Regions from separate parts of the Homo sapiens genome. Here regions 2, 3, 4, 5, 6 and 7 are each linked to region 1. The links are contacts of gene promoters, found by promoter capture Hi-C in blood cells and fetal thymus (Javierre and others, 2016). All regions are on one chromosome and are shown on one strand. Each heading gives the region's core, a stretch centred on a gene start or on the middle of the fragment in contact. The rest is flanking DNA. Distances are from core to core; before and after follow the strand shown. Region 1 holds the start of VAV3-AS1 (VAV3 antisense RNA 1). Region 2 overlaps SLC25A24 (solute carrier family 25 member 24). Region 3 overlaps VAV3 (vav guanine nucleotide exchange factor 3). Region 4 overlaps SLC25A24 (solute carrier family 25 member 24). Region 5 overlaps SLC25A24 (solute carrier family 25 member 24). Region 6 overlaps SLC25A24 (solute carrier family 25 member 24). Region 7 overlaps VAV3 (vav guanine nucleotide exchange factor 3).

Evidence for each region. Contacts are between HindIII fragments. The CHiCAGO score rates a contact against its expected background, and 5 or more counts as called.
Region 2: a contact is called between a fragment that was not itself captured here and the fragment with the promoter of VAV3-AS1 in region 1, in 9 of 17 cell types (M0 macrophages, M1 macrophages, activated CD4 T cells and 6 more). The highest score is 7.4, in M0 macrophages.
Region 3: a contact is called between a fragment that was not itself captured here and the fragment with the promoter of VAV3-AS1 in region 1, in 3 of 17 cell types (naive B cells, monocytes and total B cells). The highest score is 6.7, in naive B cells.
Region 4: a contact is called between a fragment that was not itself captured here and the fragment with the promoter of VAV3-AS1 in region 1, in 1 of 17 cell types (M1 macrophages). The highest score is 5.4, in M1 macrophages.
Region 5: a fragment that was not itself captured here is called in contact with the fragment with the promoter of VAV3-AS1 in region 1 in 3 of 17 cell types (monocytes, M1 macrophages and non-activated CD4 T cells); the score reaches 6.3 in monocytes.
Region 6: a fragment that was not itself captured here is called in contact with the fragment with the promoter of VAV3-AS1 in region 1 in 13 of 17 cell types (megakaryocytes, monocytes, M0 macrophages and 10 more); the score reaches 10.8 in megakaryocytes.
Region 7: a fragment that was not itself captured here is called in contact with the fragment with the promoter of VAV3-AS1 in region 1 in 16 of 17 cell types (total B cells, naive B cells, total CD8 T cells and 13 more); the score reaches 17.5 in total B cells.

What each region holds. Positions count from the first base shown.
Region 1 is chr1:107,963,091-107,965,976 of GRCh38, reverse strand. It overlaps VAV3-AS1 (VAV3 antisense RNA 1), which reads right to left and starts at 1,534. Exons shown (of 3, transcript NR_046653.1): 1 at 1,473-1,534. VAV3 (vav guanine nucleotide exchange factor 3) reads left to right here and starts at 797. Exons shown (of 27, transcript NM_006113.5): 1 at 797-1,311. The coding sequence starts at 1,108. RefSeq lists enhancers at 11-80, 16-310, 1,657-1,786. The HindIII fragment of the contact is 9,456 bases long and covers 1,517-2,886 here.
Region 2 is chr1:108,195,377-108,198,262 of GRCh38, reverse strand. The region is part of intron 1 of SLC25A24 (solute carrier family 25 member 24); the gene reads left to right. Among named protein-coding and RNA genes, the nearest start is that of SLC25A24, 3.5 kb to the left of the region's middle. The HindIII fragment of the contact is 3,460 bases long and covers 1-2,886 here.
Region 3 is chr1:107,739,403-107,742,288 of GRCh38, reverse strand. All of the region lies in intron 15 of VAV3 (vav guanine nucleotide exchange factor 3), which reads left to right. Among named protein-coding and RNA genes, the nearest start is that of MIR7852, 160 kb to the left of the region's middle. The HindIII fragment of the contact is 4,265 bases long and covers 1-2,886 here.
Region 4 is chr1:108,177,278-108,180,163 of GRCh38, reverse strand. All of the region lies in intron 3 of SLC25A24 (solute carrier family 25 member 24), which reads left to right. Among named protein-coding and RNA genes, the nearest start is that of SLC25A24, 22 kb to the left of the region's middle. The HindIII fragment of the contact is 4,417 bases long and covers 1-2,886 here.
Region 5 is chr1:108,152,997-108,155,882 of GRCh38, reverse strand. SLC25A24 (solute carrier family 25 member 24) reads left to right here. Exons shown (of 10, transcript NM_013386.5): 6 at 748-900. Among named protein-coding and RNA genes, the nearest start is that of SLC25A24, 46 kb to the left of the region's middle. The HindIII fragment of the contact is 3,573 bases long and covers 1-2,886 here.
Region 6 is chr1:108,136,745-108,139,630 of GRCh38, reverse strand. It overlaps SLC25A24 (solute carrier family 25 member 24), which reads left to right. Exons shown (of 10, transcript NM_013386.5): 9 at 423-573; 10 at 2,794-2,886. Among named protein-coding and RNA genes, the nearest start is that of SLC25A24, 62 kb to the left of the region's middle. The HindIII fragment of the contact is 1,415 bases long and covers 873-2,287 here.
Region 7 is chr1:107,802,278-107,805,163 of GRCh38, reverse strand. All of the region lies in intron 2 of VAV3 (vav guanine nucleotide exchange factor 3), which reads left to right. Among named protein-coding and RNA genes, the nearest start is that of MIR7852, 94 kb to the left of the region's middle. The HindIII fragment of the contact is 8,884 bases long and covers 1-2,886 here.

The DNA of each region.
Region 1 (2,886 bases), core at 285-2,784:
TTCACTAAGGATCCCAGAACAGCCCGGCAGGAGCTGCCCAGGGCTAACGCGCTTTGCTCTCAAACCCGGCCGCCAGTCGCCGACGCATGCGCAGTCTAGCACCGTGGCACAGGCCTTTCTCAAGCAGGTTTTTGTGGGGTCAGCAAAAGGGCCAGAACAGCAACGGCAAACAGTTCCGAGCCTGACAGTGCAGGGGCAAACCAGCTCCAAGTGAAAATCACCTCGCGAGGAAATAGGCTCAGGGATCGGGGCGGTTTCCGCAGGCGTCTCCACACACGCACTCTCACTCACTTTGAGGGTGCCAAAACACCACTAGGGGCAACTAGGAGGAATAGGCTGAGGAATCAGCTATAGAGAATGGAGGGGATAGAGCTGCAAGGGGCGAGGGGGCGACGATCTCTAAAACTTTCAGCGCCGTGCTCTACTGATGCTCTAGGCACTTTTTTCATTGCTCTGGGGAGTCTGGGTGCCCCAATTAATCCGTCGCTCCTTTGAGCATTTGTTGTTTAGGGGGTCCTGGGGGACCCCATCGTATTACAGTATTCAGCCACACTCCCCGCAAAGCCGGGAAGCCGCCCCGAGAGAAGACCCCAGGACGCCGGGGGCTGCGTGAGCCCCGCAAGGCTGCAGGCGGGGGCGCGGGATCCCCTTTCTGGCCGCCGCCCCCCTCCGCCGGCCCCTCCCCCGCGCCCCGCCCTCGGCCACAGACCCCAGCCCCGGCCGCCGGCGCGCTCCCACCCGCGCGTCTGGGGACTTGCGGACCGCAGCGAGACCGGCCGGCGTGCTGGGCATGCTCAGTGGCGGGCCGGGCGCTGGAGTCGGAAGCCTGTGCGCGGCAGCCGCCGCCGAGCCGGCCGGGGCGCACGGAGAGCGCGCGGGACTCGCTGCAGCGGCGGCCGGGTCGCGGCGCACCCGGGCCGGGACCGGAGCCGAGCCTAGCGCGGCGCCCGCGACCCGTCAGCCGCGGCTCCTGCTCCCTCGATCCCGCGCGGGGAAAGGGCCGGCGGCTGTTGGCGTCGGCGGGGCGCGGAGGAACCGCGGCGGCGGCGGCGGCGGCCGCATCCTTGCCGCCCGCCCCGGCCCAGCCGCGTCCCGGAGCCGTCGGGCATGGAGCCGTGGAAGCAGTGCGCGCAGTGGCTCATCCATTGCAAGGTGCTGCCCACCAACCACCGGGTGACCTGGGACTCGGCTCAGGTGTTCGACCTTGCGCAGACCCTCCGCGATGGAGTCCTGCTCTGCCAGCTGCTTAACAACCTCCGGGCGCACTCCATCAACCTGAAGGAGATCAACCTGAGGCCGCAGATGTCCCAGGTGAGGAGGCCGGCACGGGCGCCCCGCCTCCAGCCGGCAGCTCCCATTAATCATGCGGCTAATTTCTTTGTGTAAATGCAAACGTCTAGGTGCGCTGAGCTTGCCCTGCTTCCCAGCCTTCTGCTTTGGGACCACTTCGGCACCACTTTGGCGTTTCCTACCTTGGCTTGAAATGGTTTAGCTCCTCAAGCTGAATGCGAAAGCTTTGCGTCCGGAGATGGTGTGAGGATTTCGTAAAGGCTTTCTGTGAGGCGGGAAAGAAATAAGTTGTCTTAGGGTGCCCTTCACCTACTCTGCGTGTGTGTGGCGCGACAAAGGGAATTTGATCAAGCTCTTCTATAATAACGAAGGGGAGGGACGAAACGAGGTGATGGGGTAATTTGCCTTTAGTCTCTTCTTTTGCTTTGCGTCTTGTACTCATGTTTTCCTAAAAGAGGAACCATGACATACATGAGGACTCGAGGAAGTGAAGGGCGTTTGGTCCCGTTATCTGTCCAGGAGTGACATTGGTCAAAGGGAAGAACAGGGAGCAGAACCCGGAGGCCGCCCCCAGGGCCCCTGAGCTGGTGGCCAGCCGGCAAGCTCCCGTTTACAGCTCTTCCTAAGCCATGTGAGAAGGAGCGAGTCCAGCCTCTCTCAGCAGCGACAGGAAATGAGAAGTTTCACTAGAGATTCCGCTTTCCTTCCTGCAGTGCCCTGCTCAGGTGCTGTGGTGCCGGTCGGCTCCTGGGGCTGGAGCTGCCTCTTTGAGGGTTAAGCCAGACACCTCTGGAAGGTTGGGTGCACCCTAGAGTCAGCTCAAAAGTCACAGTTCAGTGGAAGAGTAGTTTATTTGTCCTGTCGGAAAATTTTTGTACAGAAGGATGTTAAACTCGGTTCAGAGCCTCTTTCTCTTTCAGAATGTTAAAACAAAACAAAAAACCAAACTGCTTTCAACTTAAAAGGGAGAGGACAGAGCCCTCTCCCTGACACATTTCAGCACTAATCCTCTATGACGCAGAGCCTCAGCTACTTAGCAACCAGAGCAGCGCCTTTTAAGAAGGAACGGACTTTATATGATTTAATAAGTATGTATTTAAAGTTAGAGCACACACAGTCATCTGTGATTCTTGGTGTCAGTGTTTCATCAGGGTCCCCTGCACTTCAGATTCTGCATTCCTTGCCTGTTTGCCTTCAACCTGCTGGTGGGCAGTCCCTAAGAAAGAACAGGCATGGAAGTGGGGAGAGCCATACGTATTTAAAAGTGAGGTAAATTATTTTATACCCCCATAAACATGCATGGTGATTGCTACCTCTCGGTACCCCTTCAGAGTTGTCTCAACTCTGGAAATTCCTTTGAGGGGTTTGGCAGACTTTTCTATTATGGTGGGAGCTGCAGTTAGCTACTCTCACACATCCCCATTTTCCACTTTGCCTGTAGCCTCAGGAGGCAGCGTGGGTCAGGATGCCTTGGCCCACCAGTAGGGAGTACAGTACTGTGCACATTTCCTGGAACTTGTTTCCTGGAACTCTCAGCAGTTGCTCTCAATAATCACGTTTTCTGGACAGCTGAAGACCTTTTTAAACCTCGAAGCC
Region 2 (2,886 bases), core at 108-2,607, 230 kb before region 1:
GAAATTCCTTTTCATTTCCTGTCTTAGTCCATTTAGTGTTGCTATAGTGGAATATCTGAGACAGGGTAATTTATAAAGAAAAGACATTTATTTAGCTCACAGTTCCGCAGGCTGGGAAGTTTAAGAAGCGTGGTGCTGGCATCTGCTGGACTCCTGGGGAGGGCTTTCCTGCTGTGTCACAACATGGTGGAAAGTCAAAGTGGAAGTGGACATGTGTGAAGAAGCAAAATCCGAGGGGTGTCCTGGCTTTATAGCAACCCAGCCTCGAGGGAACTGATCCATTACTGAGGGAACTAATTCAGTCTCATGAGAGAGAGAACTCACTCACTACTGCAAGAATGACACCAAGCCATTCATGAGGGATCTGCCTCCGTAACCCTGACACCTCCTGCTAGGTCCCTCCTCCCAACACGGCCACATCAGGGATCAGACTTCAACATGAGTTTTTGTGGGGACAAACAAAACGTAGCACTTGCTTTGCCTTTTGGTTCTATTCACATCCTCCACAGGATTGCATTATGCCTACCCATTTGGTGAGGGCAGTCTTCTTTAATTGGTTTACTGATTCAAATGCTACCCTCCTCCAGAGACATCCTCACAGACACACCCAGAAATCATGTTTTACCAGTTATCTGGGCATCCCTTAGTCCAGACGAGTTGATACATAAAATTAACCATCACACATGGGATAGAATTAGGATTACACAGTCAACCTTTATGGGAGAAAATTTCAGAGGCATGTCAGGGGTTTATGTAATGTCAAGGAGTGAGGACATTGGCTACTTGAGCATAGAAATGAGAACTGTGGGGTGACTCTTCGGTGGAAAGTTTCAAGGTAGTAGTTTGTATCTAAGCCAAATACTCAGCTTGAAGCAAAATCTCTATAAATTTTCATCTGATTTGATCTCATCTCCGTGTTTCCAAGCATTTGTAATGAATTGAGCATTTAGAAGAGAACAAATTTCTGTTTAAGTTTCTTTAGATTTTAGATGGAAAGAATGTAGAAATAAGAGTAGAATGTAGAAATAGGTATAAGGAATATAATAGCTAACCATTACTAAGTGTTCCAGAATTATCCAGGGAAGAGAAAAGAATTCAAGGCAAGTCCTGAGACAAAATTAAGAACCAATTGGAAGTGAAAGCGCTACATTTTTTTTTCTGGTATGACCTTTCTTTTCTGTATGTTCCAAATCTCCTCACTATGAAATTAGTGAAAAATTAAAGTTAAAAATTAGAGAAAATTCACATTAAGTTCTCCTAGGACTCAGTAGTATAAGGGTATAGACTGAGAGTAGAATGTAGTGTGAGAACAAGGAGATACAGTATTTAACCATTACTAATTCTCTTATACTTGTCTAGTAATCCTATTTCCTTTTAAAAGTCTTCAGTTATTTTCTCTTTACGCACCTCCTTCTCCCTCTTGTCTTCCTCCTTCTACCCCCATCTTCTTTCTTCCTGTGGAGCCTTCATGAATGGGATTAGTGCTTGTATAAAAGTGACCTGGAAGACCTTCCTTGCCCCTTCCACCATGTGAGGACACAGTGAGAAAACAGTGGTCCATGGAACCGGAAAGTGGGTCCTCACTAGACAGTAAATCTCCTAGCACTTCGATCTAGGACTTCCAGTGTCTGGAACTGCAAGAAATCAATGCTTATTTTTTAAGTAAGCCAATAGTATTTTTGTCATAGCAGCCCAGTTGGACTAGGACAATTATCAAGAGCAAGAAGGGAAGCAGCAAGCTACAAGAGAGTTCCGTCCTTGGTGTAAATTGACCGTGTAATCCTTGTCAAGTTTGAGCCTTACTGGAGCTTTACTTTCTTATTCTTAAAATGCAGATATCTTGCCTGCATCCTGGACAGAGCTTTTAACAAGGTCATATGTTGCAGAATATGAAAGTTCATGTTAAAAAACCCTTTAAAATGTGGTATCCCATTTACTAGCTGGTGAACTTCTTGAGGAACCTCTGTGCCCATGGGTATGAAGTGTATGCTGAATGATCACCCAATGTTAGAGGAGTGGGTGGACTGGTAACCTGATTTAAGGGCCATTCTAACTCTTACATTCTATGATTTTTTTAATTCTGTCTTTAAGTTTTTACATTTACAATCACAGAAAAAATAGTCACATAGAAGAATAGTAGCTTAGCAAATGTTTATTGCATTGAGTGGAATCAGGATTTCACTCCATTAAGTAATTCCTCTGTTAACAAAGAGGGTTCATTTCATTTTTATTTCATTAATATTGCTTTTTTTTTTTTTTTCTGGAGACAGAATCTTGCTCTATCACCAAGGCTGGAGTGCAGTGGTGCGATCTCGGCTCACTGCAGCCTCTGCTTCCTGGATTCAAGCGATTCTTGTGCCTCAGCCTCCCAAGCAGCTGAGATTACAGGCACATGCCACCACACCTGGTTAACTTTTGTATTTTCTAGTAGAGATGGGATTTTGCCATTTTGGTCAGGCTGGTCTTGAATTCCTGGCCTCTAGTGATCTGCCTGCCTCTGCCTCTGAAAGTGCTAAGATTACAGGCATGAGCTACCATGGCCAGCCCATTTCCTTAATATTTTAATTGTCAGACATGTTATGGTTTCTGGCACAATATTAAGAAGACATGATATGAAATCACAGGGTGAATTTTAGGGCATCACAACAGAAAGATTATGGTATAAGAAAAACAATGGAATTCCAACTACATTTCTGTCAAATGTTCTAAAATATATAAAATCTGTATCTTTTGTGTTCTCTCCTGATTTATATTCTAAATTTGATGTTATCCTTCTCTGCAGAAATAAAGTGTCTGAAAGAATGAAAAAAATGGAAGAATTCTTTAGTAAGGTATAAAATACCCTTTCTATCTTTGTAGCATTCTAAGCCTTTTGTCACCTTTCCA
Region 3 (2,886 bases), core at 160-2,659, 220 kb after region 1:
TGAAATTTTACTCTGTAAGTTTTCTGACAACCAAGACAAGTGGGAAAAAAAAAGACTTGATGAGTTGTGGCATTCTTATTGTGTGGCAAAATATTACAACAGCCCTTTGGAGGAGAGAGTTTTTCCTGTATGGTAAGAAGGCTATATAGTGTGGATCCTTAGGTAGGAGACATTGAAAAACATGTTCTCTACCAGCAGCATTAGATTTTTTGATATTCTTGAAGTTGATGCCATAGATGAGTATTTCTCTTTTATGTAAGCCTTCAACTATGTAATTGCAGTTTTGCTAAGGCATTTTTATAGACACCTAACCTGATGCTAGCCCTTCCAGATGTTTCTTTCTAGTAGTCTGGCTTGCTTGGATAAAATTTTTGGAACCAAGCAGGATGGGCAATTCTCATTTTATCTAGCCTGTCATTTAAGTAGCACTGATCTCACTCATTTGTATATTGAAAATTGTAGAAAATATGCAAGTCATATGGTATTTGGGGCCTCCTTGCTCCTTGGAGATGTAGACAGAGGTTAGCCCAGATTCCAGTTTTAGGGTCTGAGGTGCTCAAGGCCCACCTACATTCTCATATTTCTCTCTCTGTCCATGTTCTTGATTCACTGTGGCTTTTTTGGTTTTTGTGTGTGTGTATATATTTTTTTAATTTTCCCACCTGTCAGACCCAGGAGAAAGGATCTATGCCTTTTCCATTTTCCACCTGAAATCCATTCACAGTCTATTTTTTGTAATGCCAACAGGCGTCACAGTGGGGCTTATGTCATGCATGTGTTCCCTCGGCTGTTTCACTGGTCTTTGACACCCTCAGCAGCACCTGGAGCATGACCCTCCCCACCCTGCACTGCTCCCTGCAGAGGACCAGCACCCCTTGCCTCACCACCCCTTCAGGGAGCGGCTAGTCAGGCCGGACAGAGTGCCTCCCACACCCATCCTGGGATTTAGAGGAATAAAGCCATGTCATGTTACCCAGCAATTCAAAATTAAGCTCTCCAGTGAGTGTTTCAAAAGAAATTGGTCTTTGTTGTTAATTTTTGAAAGACCCATGTTTCTATTATTAAAGGTTTGGCAACAAATTTGACATTCAAATGTGAAAATTTAAAAGATTCACTTTGTTAATATTTTTGCCCAGATGGAGATGCCTACAGTATCTGCATGAAGCTGTCGGAGTTCTAAAGCAGGCCTAAGAAACAGCAACTACTACCGCTATGAGTACTGCTAGTCCTCTCTTCCCTTCCTGTCCCCTCCTCTCTCCTCTTTTTCATTTTCTTCATCAGGAGGTTTGTTTGGATCTTCTCAAATGTTTAAATAAGTTTCTGTTGAGACAACAAATTTCGTCTCTTAGAACAAGGGCCAGCAACATTTTGTTGTAGGGGGCCAGAGAGTAAATGGTTTAGGCTTTGTGGGCCATATGGTATCTGTCAGAGCTACTCAATTCTGTCATAGTTAACTACGAATGCAGCCATAGATTCACATAAATGAATGAGTGTGGTATGTTCCAGTAAAACACTAGTGGTTGTATTTGGCCCGTGGGCTGTAGTTAGTGACCCCTGTCCTACAGCACAAATAAGATGACTTAGGCCTAGAGAATTAGTTAATATATGTTACCACAAAATGATCTCAGCTATAATGAAACCACGCTGTGGCCTTTTGTAGAAGTGTGATTTTTTTTTTCTTTTATTTTTAGTATCAGTGATTCCTGCTTAGGCTATCATGATGATTTAGCTCCAAAATGTTTTTTAACTCCACCAAAAAAAACTATAAACCTGGATGAATTATCTATATTTGTCATTATTATTTTACTGTCTAATTGAATATTAAAAATGTCTGCTCACAGAACAGACTGTATCTATTCAATTTCTAGTTTCATTAAGTTTTATCACATGGTTTATTGAAAAGGACAGGTCCCACGGAGTCCAGGCCAGTAGCAGCCATGTAGTAACTTTTTCTCTATTCAGTAGTCAGCCATATCAACAAGAAGCATTTTTTTTTTTTTTTGAGATGGAGTCTTGCTCTGTCGCCCAGCCTAGAGTACAGTGGCGCGATCTCAGCTCAGTGCAACCTCCACCTCCTGGGTTCAAGTGATTCTCCTGCCTCAGCCTCCTGAGTAGCTGTGATTATAGGCACGCAACACCACACCCAGGTAATTTTTGTATTTTTAGTAGAGACAGGGTTTTGCCATGTTGGCCAGGCTGGTCTCAAACTTCTGACCTCAGGTGATCCGCACATCTTGGCCTCCCAAAGTGGTGGGATTTCAGGCGTGAGCCACCATGCCCAGCCAAGAAGCATTGTTTAATCAGTGATGCTCTTTGTGCTCTTGATGCATTTTCTTCCCAGCAGCAATACCATTTGTGCCTGTTATTTACTCTGAAATTTCCTCCCTGGAGGGCATACTAAGGAAAACCAGAAGGGGTAGAGGAAGCCTGTGGTGGTATCAAGAGTTGGCCAGAGGGGGAGCCTTCCTGGATGAGCTGGATGTGGGGATGACATTTTGTCACCTGCTTTGGCATTTTCTTAGTGTCCAAAGCCCGTCAGTGTCTGTTTGGAAACTGGAGGCCTTACTGGCATAATGGCCAAAATATGTCTATAAACTGTCTGTATATTTGTCAGCCCTTTTGGATTGTTTTTTGTTGAGAAATTATTTTCTCTAAAAACCTCACATTCTTCCTCCTTAAAATGCTTGCATGACCAGTTTTTAATGTGAAGAATTTGTTTATGGGTGCAGAATCCATGCCGGCACCATCAGTTGCCTCTGGGCTGTGCTGAGAGTCTCATGGTGCTGACCTATTCACATTAATCTCCCAAGTTGAAGCCAGCTCAACTCTCCCTGAATCTAATGTATTGTCTATAACCTTTCAAAATTGGCAGTTAAGTCAGGATAG
Region 4 (2,886 bases), core at 258-2,757, 210 kb before region 1:
TCGAACTCCTGACATCAGGTGATCCACCCATCTTGGCCTCCCAAAGTGCTGGGATTACAGAAGTGAGCCACCGCACCTAGCCAGCAGCTTTACTGAGATGTAATTCACATGCCATAAATTCACTTTTCTAAAGTATACAATTCAGTGACTTAAAACATTTATTTATTTTTAAATTGACAGAATTACATGTATTTATCATGTACAACATGATGTTTTGAAGTATATGTACATTGTGGAGTGACTAAGTCTAGCTAATTAACATGATACATCTCATACTTAATGATTTCTGTGGTGAGAACACTTTACATCCATTCTCTTAGTATTTTTCAAGAATATAATATATTATTATTAATTGTAGTCTTCATGTTGTATAGTGGAGCTCTTGAACTTATTCCTCATGTCAAGCTGAAATTGTGTGTCCTTTAACACAAACCATACCCGACTCCCAAAGTATTCTGCTCTCTGCTTCTATGAGATTAACTTTTTCTGATTCCACATGAGTGAGATCATGCAGTATTTATTTGTCTTTACCTGGCTTATTTCATTCATATTGTTACAGATAACAGGATTTCCTTCTTTTTTTAATGGCCGAATAGTTTTCTATTGTATATATATAGCACATTTTCTCTCTTCATGCATTGGTGGACACTTAGGTTGATTCCGTATCTTGGCTATCGTGAATAGTGCTATAATGAACATGGGAATGCACATGGCTCTTTGACATATTGATTTCATTTTATATATGTGTATATATATATGTATACACACACATACATACAGTGGTGGGATTGCAGGATCATATGGTAGTTCTATATTTAATTTTTAAAGGAACTCCATACTGCTTTCCATAATGGCTGTATTAGTTTAACTCCTCACCAACAGGGTGCAAAAGTTCCCTTTTCTCTACATACTTGCCAACACTTGTTATCTTTTGTCTCTTTGGTAATAGTCATTCTAAGTGTAGTATGAGGTGATATCTCATTGTGGCTTTTATTTGCATTTCTGTGGTAATTAGTGATATCGAGCTTTTTTTTTTTTTTTGTACTTTTTGGCCATTTGTATGTCTTTGAAAAATGTCTATTGGGGTTTTTTGGTTGTTTATTTGAGGTTTTTTGTTTTTATGTAGGCATTTACTGCCATAAACTTTGCTCTTAAAATTGCTTTTACTGTGTTCCATGGGTTTTGGTATTATGTGTTTCCATTTTTTTTCATCTCAGGAAATTTTTGAATTTTGCTTTCAGTTTCTTCATTGACCCACTGATCATTCAGGAGCATGTTGTTTAATTTCCATGTATTTGTGAATTTGCTGAAGCACCTCTGTTACTGATTTCTAGTTGTTGTTTTTTTTTTTGAGACGGAGTCTCACTCTGTCCTCGAGCTTGAGTGCTGTGGCCCGATCTTGGCTCACTGCAAGCTCCGCCTCCCGGGTTCCCGTCATTCTCCTGCCTCAGCCTCCCGAGTAGCTGGGACTACAGGCACCCGCCACCACGCCCGGCTAATTTTTTGTATGTTGAGTAGAGACGGGGTTTCACTGTGTTAGCCAGGATGGTCTTGATCTCCTGGCCTCGTGATCTGCCCGCCTCGGCCTCCCAGAGTGCTAGGATTACAGGCGTGAGCCACCGCGCCTGGCCTGATTTCTAGTTTTTTATTATTGTGGTCGGAAAAGAAACTTGATATGATTTCATTCTGCTTAAATTTGTTAAGACTTGTTTTGTGGCCTAACATATGATATCCCCTGGTGCATGTTCCATGTGCAGTTGAGAAGAATGTGTATTCTCTTGCCATTAGGTGAAATGTTTTATGTCTGATCTGTCCATTTGTTCTAGAGTATAGTTTAAGTCTGATGTTTCTTACTGATTTTCTGTTGAGATGATTTGTCTATTGCTGAAGGTAGGGTGTTGAAGTCCCCTACTATTGCTGTATTGCAGTCTCTCTCTCCTTTCAGACGTATTAATGGTTTTTATTTTATTTTATTTGTTGTTGTTGTTGTTGTTGTTGTTTTTGAGACGGAGTCTCACTCTGTCACCAGGCTGGAGTGCAGTGGCAGGGTCTCGGCTCACTGCAGCCCCCGTCTCACGGTTCAAGCGATTCTCCTGCCTCAGCCTCCCGAGTCGCTGGGACTACAGGCGCATGCCACCACGCCCAGCTAATTTTTGTATTTTTAGTAAAGACGGGGTTTCACCATGTTGGCCAGGATGGTCTTGATCTCTTGACTTCATGATCCACCCGCCTTGGCCTCCCAAAGTGCTGGGATTACAGGTGTGAGCCACCACCCCTGGCCAATGTTTGGTATTTATCTTTAGGTGCTCTGATGTTGGGTTCATATATATTTATAAAAAACAATAGCTACATAACTTATTAAGGGATATGCAATATAAAATATATAAATTGTGACACTGAAAATTTAAAATGGGAGGAGTGGAGTAAAAGTACCTTCATATAACTTACTATTATATCCTCTTATTGAATTGACCCTTTTATCATTATATAGGAACTTTGTTTCTCCTTTACAACTTCTGACTTAAAGTTTGTTTTATATGATACAAGTAAAGTTACTCCTGCTCTCCTTTGGTTTCTGTTTCCATGGAATATCTTTTTCCATTCCTTCACCATCAGTCTGTGTGTATTTTTACAGATGAAATGAGTCTGTCATGGGCAGCATATAGTTGGATCTAGTTTTTTTAATCCACTCAGACACTGTGTTTTTTGATTGGATAATTTAATCCATTCATGTTCAAGGTAATTATTGATAAGTAAGGACTTTGTACTACCATTTTGCTTATTGTTTCATGGTTCTTTTATAGATCCTTTATTCTTTTCTTCCTCTCTTGCTGTCTTTTTTTTGTGGTTAAGTGATTTTCTCTAGTGGTATGTTTTGATTTCTTG
Region 5 (2,886 bases), core at 169-2,668, 190 kb before region 1:
TTGGTGTATTGGACTTAATCAGTTTTTATCTGTAGGTGGTCATAAGGTACAGTATTTTTAAGTGACTACCACATCTGTAGTATAAGCCAAGTAATTTATCAGTACTCACAGGATGGGTACATGTTGTAATGAATTTATTGCCTAGAGAGGGCCTCAAAATATGCCAAAGAGGGTGCAATTTTTATTTTTGGTTTCAGGCTGTATGCATTCCAGTGTTGGTAGCCCTGATATACACAATATCCAAACCATTTCAGACCCATTTACAGTTCATGTCTGTACTACTTCTTGAGGAGAGGGAGTAACATATTACTTTAAATTATATGTAATAATATACATACATTAAATTATATGTAATAATATAATATTATTATCTGCAGTATACTTTTTTATTTCCCTTTAACTGAGCCTGTTCATGTTTCAAAGGGTGTTCCATTGCCTGATACATAATTTAGTTAATATTATCTTATGAAGGTTGTTCATAATTTTAATACTCTTCTTGTCTTCTCTCTCTGCTTTCTCACACTGAAGATACCAATTATTCTTAGTTTTAGAGTCAGAGACAGGCCTCTAAAATCATGGCAATACTCCCTCTCATCATTATATATATTTTTCAACCTTTCTATATTTTATTTTCAAATATATCTTCTTGCAGTTAGAAAGGGTATTGAAAAAGATTGTGTGGTTGTTCTAGAAAAAGTAATAGTAATATGCCACCAGCATTTTATATCATTCTGCTTTTATTTTTAGGTTCACGGTTCAAAATCAGACAAAATGAACATATTTGGTGGCTTTCGACAGATGGTAAAAGAAGGAGGTATCCGCTCGCTTTGGAGGGGAAATGGTACAAACGTCATCAAAATTGCTCCTGAGACAGCTGTTAAATTCTGGGCATATGAACAGGTAATTGTTATCACCCGTGGAATTTATTAACAAAGAGGAGTTAGTAAACGGATTCAATAAATGTTAATGTATAATGCTTTTGGGATTCTTGTTTTAATACATGATAATCTTTCACATATACTCCATAAGGAGGATCACTTATAGGAGATTAGACTAAATAAAATCAGAGATTTCTCATGACCAAGTTATGGGATTCTTAATTCATCATATTATTTATAAAGTTTTTTTTTTCTAAGTAGTTCTTAAAGGAAGGGTAGAATTTTAGTTTATTCATTCTGAATCCTGAGCAGAAGCAGCACACTAACATAAGTTTTATGAAAGTGTCACAATCTAACCTCTGGAAGGAAAACTATAAGTTGAAGTCCTTTGTGTAATTTGACGTTGCTGTAAAATTGAGCTGAGTTTGGAGTGACACCTCCATGAAGGCAGGGGCGTGGCTTCTTCCCCATGTACTCCAGCACCTAGACAGAGCTTGGCATGTGATAAGTTTCAAGCGAGTGTTGAATGAGTCAATGAATGAACAAATGCATTTACCTCTGAATCACTTCTCTGTCGGCTTTTGTTAACTTGGATTATTTGAGCTATTGCTTCAGCCTAACTCAATGTAAAGGGGAAATACAGAGGTAAGTTTTAGAGTTTGGGTTCTCTTTATGGTCATTAGCAGAACTGTCTAGTTGAGCAGCCACAGATTATGTTTTCCATTATTTATTCCATCATTGTTTATCAAGGACTGTAAGGGCCTTGAAATTCAACTCCCCCCCCATAGTTTTTGTATTATTCCATGTAGATTTTAGATTATTCTGGAGAGTGTTTTGTTCTTGAGCAAGAGAATACTCTTGAGAAGTTTACGAAGTCCAGTGGTATCCTTTTCTTTGCCTAGGAAATAGAGAAGCAAAAAAAAAAAAAAAATTAAAGAAAATCTAGTCTCCAGGATTTTAATTAGAACCTATCCTTGGGAAGGCTATTTTCCTTATATGAAGGTTTGAAGATTCAAATCATGATTATTAAGGGCTAATGTTTGAGATACCCTTAGGTTATTCTGACCACATACTTGGATTTTATGATAGGAAAGCCACAGCCTAAAATAAATAAATACTCAATGCAGTTATTTCAGTATGCAAGAAGTTTGGTATTTTTGAAAAAGTCCATGGGTATTGCAAGCAAATATGCACATTTTGCTTTATGCCATTTGTCAGATTCTTACCTTGGATACCACCAACAGGCATCCTCTGCTTCTGTCCACCCAAGCTCCTTCCTGAGACCTCTTTATAGTATTGTGATTTCTGCACACTAACTTTCTTAGACATGAAGAGAAAGCTGTCTACACAGTGTGGTGTAGTGTTCTTATGGGCTCTGGACCTATGGTGCTGTTTTCTCTCCTCCTGCTGAAGGTCCATTCATCCCTCGGGGCTCTCTAAAAGCCACCTTCCTGTGACAAGCATATACTAAGCATCTCAATCAAAGCCAGTTCCTCCCCTGTCCAGCCTCCCTCGAGTGCTGAATTGCAGAATATCCCATTTTTCATTGGATGATGGAAAACCCATTGTTTTCCCAGTGGATTGTAAATTACTTCGGGGTAAATAGGCTGTATATATTCTCAAATTTCCCAGAGTATGTAACTAGGTCACTTTTAGATTCAGATAGATTTTGTTCCTTGAATAGCTAGTACTTTAGGAAACTAAGAAAAAGATCTTTTCAACCTGGTATGTAGCTCTGTCAAACACATCATCAGTATGGGGTAAACCTGTGTTCTCTGTGGGTTGTCATTACCATAGTAGTGTCATTGTATCATTGACAGTGTAATAGTGTGGGGTAGTGTTCTTGTGGTTTCAGCTGCCATCTCTGTACTGACTGCTTTCCACTCCAACATCTTCCTCTTTATCTCAACACTGTAGGTCTACCTGTGTACTGTGTGTTTCAGCATCTCTGCTTGCATGACCCAGGAGTGCCTCCCACTCAATATGGCCACCATGCATGGTCATCTTT
Region 6 (2,886 bases), core at 331-2,830, 170 kb before region 1:
AAACTCCGCTGAGATGAATTTTTCTCATTTCTAAAATCAGAATAATAGATTTATGTAAGAGTTTCTGTAAGGCTCAAATGAAATATATGTAACGTGTAAAATGAGATACAATTAGTAGAATTATATTATTTTATTAATACTCACCATAAGAGGTGTTCTTTAGATCCTGCAGCGTTTGCTGCGCAGTTCACGTTTGTTTAGAAGAATGTCAGTAACCGGTGCAAACCTCATGTGTTCCGCACCCCCAGTGGCCTCCCACCTCTCCACAGAGTCACCGCCTCCTGCAGTGCCTGCTGCTTCTGCAAATGCGTGGCCTCATCCTGCAGAAACGGGGCTTCTCATGAGGTTGAGAATAGCTGTGAAAATGTTTACGTTGAAGTTGTAGAGTTCGTTAATTATTTTCTTCTTTATTTCTCTGGCAGCTCTTGAAGTCCTATTGGCTGGATAATTTTGCAAAAGATTCTGTAAACCCTGGAGTCATGGTGTTGCTGGGATGCGGTGCCTTATCCAGCACCTGTGGTCAGCTGGCCAGCTACCCATTGGCTTTGGTGAGAACTCGCATGCAGGCTCAAGGTGAATTTTTGATTACAGAACCACACCGATAAAAGTGCTGCACCAGTAATGTGCTTTTAGAACTCCAAGTTCTACTAAGATGCAGACTGTAGTTTTAAGACAGTATTTCTCAACCTTTTTTTCATTATTGCCTCCTTAAGGAATCTTTTCAGAAATTCTTTTTCTAAATGCTCCCTCGTCATGAAATTTTAATGCGACAGAAGCATTGCATATGTACTGTATGCATACATATGCCTTATAGATAAACAGAGTACTATTTTTTTTGACTGTGTTACATGCACGTTTTAAGATTATAAGCTTTAGTATCTGATGGATTTGGGTTCAGATCCTTGCCTCAGACTTCTTGGGGTTTTTAATGGGAATGAAAATTGTACAGTGTTGTAAGAATTACCAACAATATAAATAAAGCATCTTGGGTTTGTTAAATTTTTGGTAAATGGTGGTTGGAATCATTTTTTAGTGTTGCGTAGACCCTACAAGTTTTGAGCTGTGATTCCTCCTCACTGTGACAGTCTCCATTGTTGGCTTTGATTACACTGTACCATCCTGGTTGTTCTGCCAGCCCATTGATAACTTTTACCATTTGCTGGCTTTTATTGCTATCCCCACTCTATTAAAGTATGCATTCAAATGCCTTTCTTTTCTCTTTGATGCTTTCCCTGGTCAGTCTTATCCATTGTTTTCTTAAGTAGTACACCTTGGGCATCTACAGCTCTATTCCCAACCTCCCTTCCAAGTGCCAGCCACAGCAACCCCAGCCAAGCAGTCAGTAACTAATTGGCAAATACTCCCTGAGCCATTGTCCCATTCTAGACACTGCCAGATGCTAGGGGTAGAGCAGTCAACAAGTCAGGTGTGGCCCCGCCAGTGTAGAGTAGAGAAGACGTTATGTCCAGCAAGTAAACAACCTGGTTAAACCAACTCCTCTTTTGTTAGGGGAGCACAGAGCAAGGAGCTATAACCTAACTTGGGCGCTGCAGAATGCTGTCAGTGAAGCTGAGACTGGAAAGATGAGTGGGAGTTAGCTGGGCACAGGCCAGTGGAGTGGGAACAGAAAACATTCCAGTTGAGGGAAAGCATGTGTGAAGACACTGAGGCAGGCACCAACATGGTGTATTTAAGGAGCTGAGAGACAGTCATGGCTGTAGAGAAAAACACAAAGTAGTGAACTACACGTTTCTTGTGTATTCTCTCATTTCACCATCATAACCATCTTGGGGATGGGAATACTAACATTATCCCCATTTTTCAGATGAGCAACTGGGGCAGAGAGAATTTAAGTAACTCCCACAAGATTATACCTGTGGTAAATAGTGGGACTGAAATTCAGACACATGCAGTCTGATTCTAACCCTCCTGTCTGCCAGCTCTGATCCAGAACTTTGCATGACTGATACGGCTGATAGATTGTCTATGGCTGATAGACTGTCATTTCTGACCTAAAAGTCTGATCATTTTACATCTGTTCAGACATCTTTGCAGCCTTTCGGTGTCAGTTCCAAAGTTGTTAGTGGGAATTTCAAAGCCTTTAATAATCTAGCCCCACTTTGTTCACTCTCTGTGTAATAACCACATACAACAATTGGCTGCATCTCCATAGCACATGGTACTCCTCCCGTTGTCTTGGTTGTGCCAGCAACACTGGTTTTCGCTTTCTCTTCCTGCTTGTTGAGGTCATTTCCAAGGCCCAGGTCTTTGTGCTTTTTCCCAAGCTTCCCAGAGCTTCTTCCATACTCCCCTTACTTCCTGAGATTTAACTGTTCTCTCTTCAGCGCTTGTCTAGTAAGAAGGAGGCAGCAGCAGCACTGTGGGGTGGTGGAAAGTGTACCAGCTTTAGAGTCAGACCATTGGATCTCAGCCCTACCATTTTCTACTTAGATTTTTTTAGGACAAATTTCTCCATCTTTCTAAGCCTCCAATTGCTCACTTACAAAATTGATATAACATTTACCTTGCAAGATTGGTATGGAAGGTAATTAACCCAGTATTTAGAACATAGTAATTAATAAATAACTATTATTACCATCATTACTATAGTTAGGACACTCACTGTTAGGTGCTATACAAAGAGGATCATAAAAGGGATGTTGTCTTGGGCTTCTTGGAATAAATGTTGTCCTTTTACTGTATTTTAGAATATCATTCTGGGTCATAATTGTTTGTTGTCATAATAATGAAACATACTTGAATATTAAATTACCCTCTTTTTTTATTTTTTAGCCATGTTAGAAGGTTCCCCACAGCTGAATATGGTTGGCCTCTTTCGACGAATTATTTCCAAAGAAGGAATACCAGGACTTTACAGAGGCATCA
Region 7 (2,886 bases), core at 222-2,721, 160 kb after region 1:
CAAACAGATTCAACCCCAATAAGGCTTTACCAAGAAGCATAATAAACTCTCAAAGGTCAAGGACAAAGAAAGGATTTTAAAAGCAGAAAGAGAAAAGAAGCAAATAACATATAAAGGAACTCCAGTTGGTCTGGCAACAGACTTCTCAACAGAAAACATACATTTTCAAAGTGCTGCCAGGGGAATCAAAAAAAAAACCCAACCCCCACCCCACCCCTGCTGCCATCCAAGAGTATTGTTTCAACAACGCTATCCTTCACATATGAAAGAGAGATAATCTTTGCCAGACAGACAAAAGTTTAGAGAATTCACCACCACCAGACTTGTCTTACAAGAAATGCTAAAGAGAGTTTTTCATTCTGAAAGAAAAGATTAATGTGCAAAACAAACAAACAAAAAAAACCAAAAATATTTGAAAGTATAAAACCCACTGGTAAAACTGAAGTTCGGATACAGCCCCAGAATACTTTAATACTGCAATTATGATGTACAATACACTCATAACTTTAGTATGAATCCTAAAGCACAAAGTATCAAAAAGAATAATAGCTACAGAAACCTGTTGAGATAGTCAATACAAAAATGTGTAAATTGAGAAAACAAAAATGTGGAGAGAATGGAGTTAAAATAAAGATTAAAGTTCTCTCTTGTTTCTTTTTTGGGGTGATCTGTGATAAGTTGTCATCTCTGTAAAATGACTTGTTATGTCTACAAGATTTTTTTGTAAGCCTCATGGTAACCTACATGTTAAAACCTATAATAGATATGCTAAAATTAGAAAAAGCAATGAATTAAAACATGTTACCAGAGGAAGTCACTTAACCACAAAGGAAGACAGTAAAAAAGGAAGAACGGAGTTACAAAGCAACCAGAAAACAAGCAACAAAATGACACCAGTAAGTCCTTACCCATCAGTAATAGCACTGAGTATAAACAGATGCAGTTCTCCAATTAAAAGACATAGGCTGGATGAATACATAAAGAAACAAGACCTAACTATATGCTTCCTAGAAGAAACCCACCTCACCTATGAAGACACATGTAGGCTGAAAGTAATGGGATAGAAAAATATATTCTATGCAAGTAAAAACCAAAAAATGGGGGGAATAATTATACTTAGATAAACAGATTATTAGTCAAAGACTTTAGACTCTGCCTAATAGAGAAGGTGACTATATTAATAATATAAGGGGTCAATTCAGCAGGAAAATATAACAATTATAAATATGCATCCAACACTAAAGCACACAAAAGCAACATTAGTAAATCTGAAGGGAGAGATAGATTGCAATAAAGTAACAGTCATGGACTTTAACACTCCACTCTCAATAATGGATTAATCATCTAGATAAAAAAATCAACAAAGAAACAGCAGAGTTAAACTACTACACTAGACCAAATAGACCTAAATGACTTTTACAGAATGTGTCACCCAGCTGTTGTAGAATACACATTATTTTCATTAGCATATGGAAGTTCATCCAAAATGCACCGTATCTTAGGCCAGGAAACAAGTCTCAGCAAATTTAAAAGAGCAATATATCACATGTATTTTTTTACCACAATGAAATAAAACTAGAAATCAATCACAAGAAGAACCTCTCTGAAATGAGACAAACACATGGAAATTAAACAACATGCTCCTAAATGACCAAAGGGTCAATGAATAAATTAAGAAAGAAATTTTTAAAATTCATGAGACAAATTAAAGTGGAAATATGACATACCAAAATCTGTGGGATACAGCAACAGCAGTACTGAGAGGGAAGTTTATAGCAGTAAATACCTACATCAAAAAATATAAAGACTTCAAATGAACTAATGCACCTCAAGGAACTAGAAAAGCAAGAACAAACTAAACCCAGCCTTAAAAATGAAAAGTTGGTTTTCTGAAAAGATAAACAATATTGACAAACCTTTAAATAGACTACCAAAAAAGAGAGAAGGCCCAAATGAATACAATCAGAAACAAGAAAGGCGACATAACAACTGAGACCACAGAAATAAAAAGAATCATTAGAAACTATTATAAGTATAGGCCAACAAATTGGGAAAACTAGAAGAAACAGATAAATGCCTGGACACATACAACCTGACAAGATTAAGCCACGAAGAAATAGAAAACTTCAGCAAACCAATAAGGAGCAACAAGATTGAAGCCGTAATAAAAAGTCTCTCATTAAAGAAAAGCCCAGGACCTGATGGCTTCACTGCTAAATTCTACCAAACATTTAAAGAACTGATACCAATTCAACTCTAACTCTTCAAAAAAAAAAAAAACTGAAGAGGAAGAAATACTTTCAAACTTATTCCACAAAGCTAACATCACCCTAATACCAAAACCAGACAAGCACACAACAGAAAGTAGACTACAGGCCAATATCACTGATAAACACAGATACAAAAGTCCTCAACACAATATTAGCAAACTGAATTCAGCAACACATTAAAAAGACCATTCACTATGATCAAGTGGGATGCATCCTAGGATATGATAGTTCAACATATGCAAATTAATAAATGTAATGTATCCTCTTTACCTAACCAAGAACAAAACTATAAGATCTTTTCAATAGATGCTGAAAAAACGTTTGATAAAATTTAACATCACTTTATGATAAAAATCCTCAACAAACGTTAAGAATAGAAGGAACATAATTCCAAATAATAAAGGCCATATATGACAAACCCATAGTCAATAGCATATTGAATGGGGAAAAATTGAAGGCCTTTTTGCTAAGATCTGGAAAAAGAGATGCCCATTTTTATTCAACATAATACTGGAAGTCCTGGCCAGAGCAGTGAGGTCAGAGAAAGAAATAAAGGCCATCCATATTGGAAAGGAAGAAGTCAAATTATCGTTATATGCAGATGACATGAACATTT